3 separate regions of the Homo sapiens genome follow, and regions 1 and 2 are each linked to region 3. The links are contacts of gene promoters, found by promoter capture Hi-C in blood cells and fetal thymus (Javierre and others, 2016). All regions are on one chromosome and are shown on one strand. The core of a region is centred on a gene start or on the middle of the fragment in contact, and the rest is flanking DNA. Distances in the headings are between cores, read along the strand shown. Region 1 has its middle 43 kb from the start of ASB9. Region 2 has its middle 170 kb from the start of MOSPD2. Region 3 holds the start of GLRA2 (glycine receptor alpha 2).

Region 1 (2,766 bases), core at 63-2,562, 700 kb before region 3:
GTCTATGGATAGAATTCAGGAGTCCTGTAAATTTAAATTTTAAAAATCTAGTTTTTATTAAACTCCAACTGAAATTGAACATCTCTCTTCATTAGGAATGCAGGAAACTGGAATAGTATTAGTAGTACCTGTACCTCTGTCATCCATAAATATCACAGAGTTTGTTTTTTTTTTAATTCAAAATAGAGTCTTGCTTTGTCACTCAGGCTGGAGCGCAATGGTGTGATCATAACTCACTGCAGGCTTGAACTCCCAAGCTCAAGTGATCTTCCTTCCTCAGCCTCCCCAGTAGCTGGGAGTACAGGTGCATGCCACCATACCCAGCATTTATTTTATTTTATTTTTTAGTAGAGACAAGGTCTTGCTATGTTGCCCAGGCTGGTCTTGAATTCCCGGGCTCAAGCAATACTCCCCTCTTGGCTTCCCAAAGTGCTGGGATTACACAGGTGAGCTACAACGCCTGGCCTCACAGAGACTTTTGCATCAGATTATAGTTGTTGCAAATATTCTGAAATCATCTTTTATGGTCATGATTTCTTTGAAATTACTGTGGTTATTAACCTGCTACGAGATTGCACATGATCATGGTTTTCCTGTCTCCAGATCAAATGATGAAGTTGAATGTTTTCACAACTGGAGTTTAACACAAAAATGTCTGGAGCATCCTGATGTCTCTGAGAGATTATCTTCACCTTGTAAACTGAGCTATGGAAGTTTTAATTCCATTTGGAACAATGTGTCTCCATGGATGGCCTTTTCAACATTTGTAACCCTTAAAACAAAAAATTGATGTTGACTGGATATTCATTATAATATGCCTCTAACCTTATCAAAGACGACTCCACAGTTTAATGTTCTTTTTGAAGCTAAACAACAGCCTTCACACAAAAATGCCTTTAAAAAGTCCTATAATCTGCATATATATTGTATTGTTATTTTATTTGTTGTTATTTAGGGTGATAACAAAGAAGCAGTTATATTATACCATAAATTTATTCATTTCATTTATTTTTAAAGATTTATTAAGGTATACTTTGCATACAATTCATAGAACTTTACCAGCCAGAAAAAAAAAACCTGAGTTTCTATTAGCTGTTGCAAACATATATGCAAGGTCTCCAGGATAACAGCTGGTATCTTGAGAAATTGAATTTTCCAGTGCCAGGTAAGGTTGATGAAGTATTAGCTCCTGAATGGAATATATCATATAAGATTTGACAAGCTTGAATTCATACCTAATGTTCTCAAAAGGGGTAGGAAATGATTGGAGAGCAATCAGGGAGTGTTCCCAAAGAGGCCCTGAACAATGTGAAAGCAGATAAATAAGAAAATGCACCCCATTAGCAGGTCACAAATGGACTGGAATTGGCTTGTCATTGCTGAGAGTAAAATGAAAGCTTAAGGAGATGTGTGAACACAGCACAGAACTCATACCAGTGCTGATTTTTTCCTCTCAGGTACCTAGAGAAATGTGTTTAGTGATTGGCTATTCAGAAGTGCATTTGCCCAAAGGCCCTACTTAAATAAAGGAAAAGAGCCTGCTCGATTGTGCCCCCTATGCTGAGAAATATAAGACCCATAGTTCTGTTTTAGTTGTTAATTTGGGCTCTAACCACATCTGACAATGGTCTAAATTCAATGCTTACAACCAACATTTAACCAAGCAGCCCTTTTTCCACTCTGTACAATACAGTGGAATCGTCTAGGGTTCTCTTGGGCTCACTGAATTCTTGAGTCTGCAGTGGTCTTCATCTGGGGGCTATTCGGCCCCTTCCTAGGGGACATTTGACAATATCTGGGGATACTTTCAGCTGTTACAACTGGAAGGTGCTTCTGGCATCTACTGCATAGAGGCCAGGGACGCTGCTAAACATCCTACGATGTACAGGATAGCCCATGACAATAATGATCTGGCCGAGAACGTGAGGAGTGCTAAGAATGAGAAGCTCCACTGTAAAGGATGGTGCACATAACTGCACAGGAGTGTCAGGTTCACAGAGATGAGGGTCTTTAGGGAGGAGCCGAAGTGTCCAGGTAGAGAACAGAGGAAAAGTCATACCATTTTGTCTCTTCTGACACATTTTCAAACACAACTCTTCTCTGCATTTCAGATTGTTTCATGGAAATGACTCGTTTCTTTCCTGATTTCATCTTCCTTGTGGATACAAAAGGGGCAGCCAAGATCAGGGAAGGTTTACAGCAAAGCTCTGCAACACCTGGAAAAGCATCCACCCACATTTGGAGCTCCTGTGTTTAATTAATCTTACACTAAAATGTCAATATGTTATCAATTAATATTCACTTATTACATTTCAATCATAGTATATTGTATATACTAATATATGCCCTCCTCCTCCTAATTAATATTATTTTTAGCTCCTATTTAAATAAGGAACTTGAATGAGTCCTAACTCATGTCATGGACTGGCTGGGTGATAAAAGAGTTTTCAAACAACATTCTAACCCTGACCTACAGTCAAGGTTAGAGTTGCTCTGTCTTTCCCTGTGGAAAGGAAAAGCCATAGAGGGACAATGAAAATGAATGCGAGAGAAATAAAGAAGCATGACTCACAGAGTTGTGGGATATGGGAATAGTATTCAGACAGGACCTACAGTGGATTGAGAAGTAGGACAAACTTGTAATGAGTGGCATCCTTAATCACCTCTGGTGGTGCATTTTACCTACATAGAATCCATGGCCCATTTGTCTAACTATGTTGTGGTCTATCGGCTGCTAATTACTTCTGCTCTGACATTTGTTAATGA
Region 2 (2,809 bases), core at 231-2,730, 520 kb before region 3:
TTAGCAAGATCCCCTGGTAATTTGTATACACATTTATATTTGAGAATCACTGATCTAGAAATTATCTTTAAATGACTTACAATCGATTCTTGTCTGTCTTTAGTTTTTTAAAAGTTTGCTCATTTTTTTTCATTTTTGGAAAATGATAATACTTGTATGTAGTAAAAACTTCAAATATAGAGTGACAATTTATAGAATTCTTTTTAATTCCTTGTTTTTACCCCCCAAAATACCATACTGTATACATTGTTATGTACCTAGCTTTCACACATAATAACATACTTAAGACCTAGCCTCATCAATACATAAATCCAGCCCAATCCTTTGAATGGCTACATGATATTCAATTTAGCATATATACAATATTTTATTTAGTCCCCTTATAATGAATTTATAGTGAAAAAATTTTCCATTTACTGAAGTTATTTTTATGATCACTGTTTTTCTGTGGACAGCTTCAAATTTATCATTGTCTTCCAGAGTATGGTTAGTTGAAAACATACTATGCTGGATTCTTTGTAGGCCCCAAATATTGGCTCTTTCAATGAATTCATCAGAAAATTTTATAGAATCAAATATGGTAGAAATTAAAATTTGGGGGATTATGGAGGGAGTCAGAAGCAGCACAGTTCCATTCAAGTCCTTGGGCTGGGATCTTCCCGTTGCCTCTCCAGATCTATCCTGCACCTTTCTTGATGTTGCACTTTGTCATCTCCCTTCCAATTTAGCCAATGAGGAGCCCTAGCAGGATGGATTTCCCCCCCTCTTATTTCTTCTGATACTTCCAGGATTCCTGTTGAAGGTCAATGTTTTCTTCATAGGTGGGTTTTTCTATATGGTTTTCTTTTTCCAGTTTTCTGGAATCTCAATCTCACCTTATCCCTGCAGGCTTAGGAATAGAAACAACTTCCCTGCACCCAGTCCTGTGATATGTTCTCCATAGCTTTGTAAATAATCTCTTTATTGTGGCACTATTCACAATAGCAAAGACTTGGAACCAACCCAAATGTCCAACAAGGATAGACTGGATTAAGAAAATGTGGCACATATACACCATGGAATACTGTGCAGCCATAAAAAATGATGAGTTCATGTCCTTTGTAGGGACATGGATGAAATTGGAAATCATCATTCTCAGTAAACTATCGCAAGGACAAAAAAAACCAAACACCGCATGTTCTCACTCATAGGTGGGAATTGAACAATGAGAACACATGGACACAGGAAGGGGAACATCACACTCTGGCGACTGTTGTGGGGTGGGGGGAGGGGGGAGGGATAGCATTGGGAGATATACCTAATGCTAAATGACGAGTTAATGGGTGCAGCACACCAGCATGGCACATGTATACATATGTAACTAACCTGCACATTCTGCACATGTACCCTAAAACTTAAAGTATAATAATAATAAAATAAAATAAATAAAAAAATAAAAATAATAATCTCTTTGTAAACAGACTTTTTTCAAGTCATCCAAAATTGAGTTTGATTTCCTGTTGTATTGATACAATTCCCTTCCTGCTTGTACTCGCCAGCTGTGGGAAGTAGTGAATGGACCAGATTTTACATACCATACAAGTAATTACTTTGGTAATGCAGGTCGAGGAATCCTGGAAAATGTTTAGCTATCAGCTCCAAAGACATTTTATCTTTGACTCCTGAATCAGTTAGGATCTTCTGATTGCAAGTGACAGAAAGTCCAATTCCAACTGGGTTAGAACCAAAAAGGGATTAAACTGTCACAAGCAAATGAAAAGTGCAAGGATCAATTTGGCTTCAGGCTCAGCTAACTGGTAAGCCCAGGAGCAGGAGGCCTGTCACCAGCAGCTGTTACTTTGATATCTTTTTGATCTGTTCTTTATGTTGGCTTTATGCTCAGGTTCCCATAGGAGGCCAAAATGTAGGCTTCAGACCTACATTTTCCTGATTTAAGGTCAGCGGGAAAGAGAGACAGTCTTCTCCAAAAGCCTTCATAGAAGTCTGATTTCTCATTCTCACTGGCTCAACTTGGTCTTTAGCTCATCTCTGAATAAAGCCCTGGGGAAAAAAAAAAGAAAACTATTTATCAAGCACTTAATATGTGGCAAACATGGTTCTAAGCATTTCTCCCATGCGATAGGCATTATTATTGTGTCTATTTTACTGAAGAAGGTAGTGAGACATATAAAGATGATGTCCCAGAGCTAATAAGTGGTAAAGCAGAGAGTAAAACCTGGGTAGTCTTGCCCCTTTCCCAAATATAAACCACTTTACTCTTTGGGCTGTCTGGCTTGGTCCTGAGTCTCACGACCACCTCTGGAGCTGGGGTGATGTCAGCTTCACATAAACGTCTACGGATGTGAAGTAGCAGAGGAAATGTCTTCTCACTGGTTGCAATCTCTTTCCTAGTTCCAACCCTGGAATGGAAGGCTGTCTGTTCTAGGATGGCAGCCAAGCGATAGGGTTCACCTTGGGTTCTGGGAGACCATGGCAGGAGCATAATTTTCTGACAGAAACAGCCCTGTACACCAAGAGCCAGAAGGACAGAGAAAGCAAAATCCCTTGGGAAAACCAAGGATTAATAGAGGTGAAACCCAAATGCAGCAGTCAGAAGCAGCAAACAAATAGGGACCACAAAGTCTCCATCACTCAATGAATTAGTGAAGATAGCACACAAATGTCAAGTACAAAGAGTTGGATCATCAAATTTTAGACTTCTTCAGGGTTTGGGATGAGAAATTCTACACGTGGAAATCAAGTCATGACTACTTAATGTGAAGAAGAATGGATTTTGTTTTAATGGATAGAGGAAAGACTGAAGACAAAT
Region 3 (2,895 bases), core at 230-2,729:
AGTATTCATAGCATTATTACTATGTGTTCCATTTATCTTGGTTCTGTGAAAAAATGCCATAAAATTTAATGAAAATTAAATTTAGAGTCCTATACTTTGTTGTAAGAGCATCTCCTGTCTCTGCTCAGTCTTCCACTCTCTGTTATTAGATGACTATTTCACTTACTGGTAATGATTTGATATTTTGAGGTATCAATTGATTTGGCAACTATTCGTAAACCATGTAGAAAATGCAAGCATGAAAATAGTAATTTCTCACTTTTTAAAATTATGCATGCTCCACTTCTCATATGTACATAAATACAATTATGTCATATTAACTAAATTTTGGTAGGCAATCCATTTCCAAACAGATTGAATAGTAGAATATAGTAGTAAAAAGAAATTTTTGATATTTCAAGAAAATTCCTGAATTGTAGTCCTCATAGTATGCTTCTAGTTTCTGAAATATAACAGAAGTCCCAAGTTGGCTGAGAATTAGGGATCTTTTATATTTTATCTAAAATGAGCATGCTCCTGCCAAATTAATACAATCATCTTATATGAAAAACACTGCACCCAATAATCTCTTTAAATTACTTTCAGAAAAATAATTACCCTTATATAGAAATGTAAAGAGCATGCAACTCATCAGACTACCTTAATATCACGTTGGCTGTGAAAATGTGTGTTGAATTGCATAGAGTGCGGCTATGCATCATAAAACTTGCTTTTGTGAAAAATTTACCACCCTCCCACAATTATTAGGCGTTTTAAATGAACAAAAGATATCTAACTTTCCTCTATAAAATTAAAATAATATAGTCCAGAGCACAGATAAATACACAATTACATGACACATTCTCTTTTAAACAATTTAAATATCAACATGCAAAGTCGTTTCACCTACCTGAAGTGGTTTGTCTCTAAGAAAAATGCAAACAAGGCTGTCAAAATGTTCACTAGCTGCCGGTTCATTCCTGTTTCTGTGTTGCTTGTGGAAAATATCCCGAAATGATTCCAGAAAGATGCTAGGACAAAGTGTCTGTTTATTGTCCAGATTCAAAATTTGGCAGGAACCTAGTTTCCTTGAAAATCAAAAAGAGATTTGGTTTTGTACAGTTTGCTGAGAAAAAAGAAAAAGTGCCAGTCCTGGGCATCATGGTCAGGTCAAACCGAGGCTTGGGACCATCAGTTAACCCAGAAAGACAAAGCCTCAGAACTGATGAATCCCCCAGCTGCTTTTCCTGAATAATAAAAATGCTGCTACCTTAATCGCATCACCATGCAAAGGGAGTTGGTGACAATGCCATGCTAGATAGCTGTGGCTTTTGTTTTATATCTTTTCTGTTTAGCAAAGCCCTTTTTCTAGAAAATGTTTTCTTTTAAAAAGAAGTTGTAAATGAGAGAGAAGAAAGGACTCTGCGCGCTGGAGTGGGTGGGGGGAAGAGGGAAAAATTGCTGAGATCCTGTGCTGGAATGAGGGCTATAGAATGAGACGGAGACGTGATCTTACCCAGCCTATAAATTTCAGCACTCGGACAGCTCCAAGCTCTGAAGTGCGCATGTTTCCTTTTTCAGTTGCTTGGGGCGGGGGTCGGGGAAAAGCATTCAAGAGGGGACGTGCCTGCTGTTCGAAGGCAAAGAGTGACTGGCCGTTCAGCGAGGGGATACTGAAGGGGGTACGATGACAGCAAGAGGAGAAGAGAGGTCGGGAGACGGAGAGGGTGAGGGAAGTGGGGTCTGAGCTCCTGGAAATGCTAGGCTGTCGGTGGGTGGGCGGGACGGGAATTTGAAGCAGAAAAGGGAAGGGAATAAGGTTTAATCGTGGGAAAACGAAATTGGGGGAAACAGAGAACAGGATTCAGAGTACTGAAATTATAATAAGGGTGTGGACAGTTCACTCTTTGTCAGTGCAAGCCGGAGGCAAAGAGGAGTCCTGTGCCGAAGAGAAGGGAACATTTCCTTGGCACAGAGAAGCCCGCGTGCAGAAGAAGGTTCATGAAGATCGATAATTTAATTTAGAAGTCCTTTATGCCTTCCTCGCCTTTTTAATGTTTTCATTTGATTTTAGCCGCCTAGTCCCAAAGGATCTCTCTACCTCTGTACTAGGGAAAGCCCCTTCCAACTGAGCTTTCTTCAGTGGCTCAAAATCCTTGGGCATCCGCAAGTCACAGATTTGTAGAAAAGGAAATGAGACAATGGGCCGGCAGGGGGCAGTAGCAATCTTTTCTTGCCATGGTTAAAGGTTAGAGCAGGGCTCCATGTTAGAAATGGAGCAAGGAAAAGTGCAACTGGGAGTTTAGTTCATCTGCCCATTCCAGATGTTAATCACTAGGAACAGTCATGTAATAAAGTGCATATGCTATTCTCCTAAATTGGCTAAAGGGACTGAAAATAGTGGAAGTTCATAAATCTGTACAAAAGTCTGACGAGTAACCCTGCTATTTCAAATCAAAATTACAAATATTATTATTAATAAAAAAGAGGAAGGGTAGATAGTCCAATGCGGATAATTAGCAGCTTCTGGGAAGGGGGAATGAAAAATGCATGTCCTACCATAAGCTAGGAGAGTAACCTACTTTTTGTGGAATATTCCTTGTTAGTCACCTATGTGCTTTACTGGAGGTCTTAATTTTAAAACAAAATAATATGATTAATTTTTACTCCGTAAATGACTAACTTTGGATCAGTTTAAATATCATAGTAGAGTAACAATGAATTCTATGTTTTTAAGAAGTAGATTCAGAGAAAAAAGATGGCAAGTTCTTTTTACCTTTTAATGTTAATATAAATCACCAGAGGATCTTATTGAAATGCAGATTATGATCCAGTAGGTCTGGGGTGGGGCCTGAGATTCTGCATTTCTAAGAAGTTCCTAGCTGAAGTTGATGCTGCTTGTCCACAGTTCACACT

The links. Contacts are between HindIII fragments. The CHiCAGO score rates a contact against its expected background, and 5 or more counts as called.
Region 1: a fragment that was not itself captured here is called in contact with the fragment with the promoter of GLRA2 in region 3 in 1 of 17 cell types (M1 macrophages); the score reaches 6.3 in M1 macrophages.
Region 2: a fragment that was not itself captured here is called in contact with the fragment with the promoter of GLRA2 in region 3 in 1 of 17 cell types (neutrophils); the score reaches 8.9 in neutrophils.

Annotation. Positions count from the first base shown.
Region 1 is chrX:15,225,496-15,228,261 of GRCh38, reverse strand. No RefSeq gene overlaps it. Among named protein-coding and RNA genes, the nearest start is that of ASB9, 43 kb to the left of the region's middle. The HindIII fragment of the contact is 175 bases long and covers 1,225-1,399 here.
Region 2 is chrX:15,045,695-15,048,503 of GRCh38, reverse strand. No RefSeq gene overlaps it. Among named protein-coding and RNA genes, the nearest start is that of MOSPD2, 170 kb to the right of the region's middle. The HindIII fragment of the contact is 3,075 bases long and covers 1-2,809 here.
Region 3 is chrX:14,528,120-14,531,014 of GRCh38, reverse strand. It overlaps GLRA2 (glycine receptor alpha 2), which reads right to left and starts at 1,479. Exons shown (of 9, transcript NM_002063.4): 1 at 890-1,479. The coding sequence starts at 957. The HindIII fragment of the contact is 5,355 bases long and covers 1-2,895 here.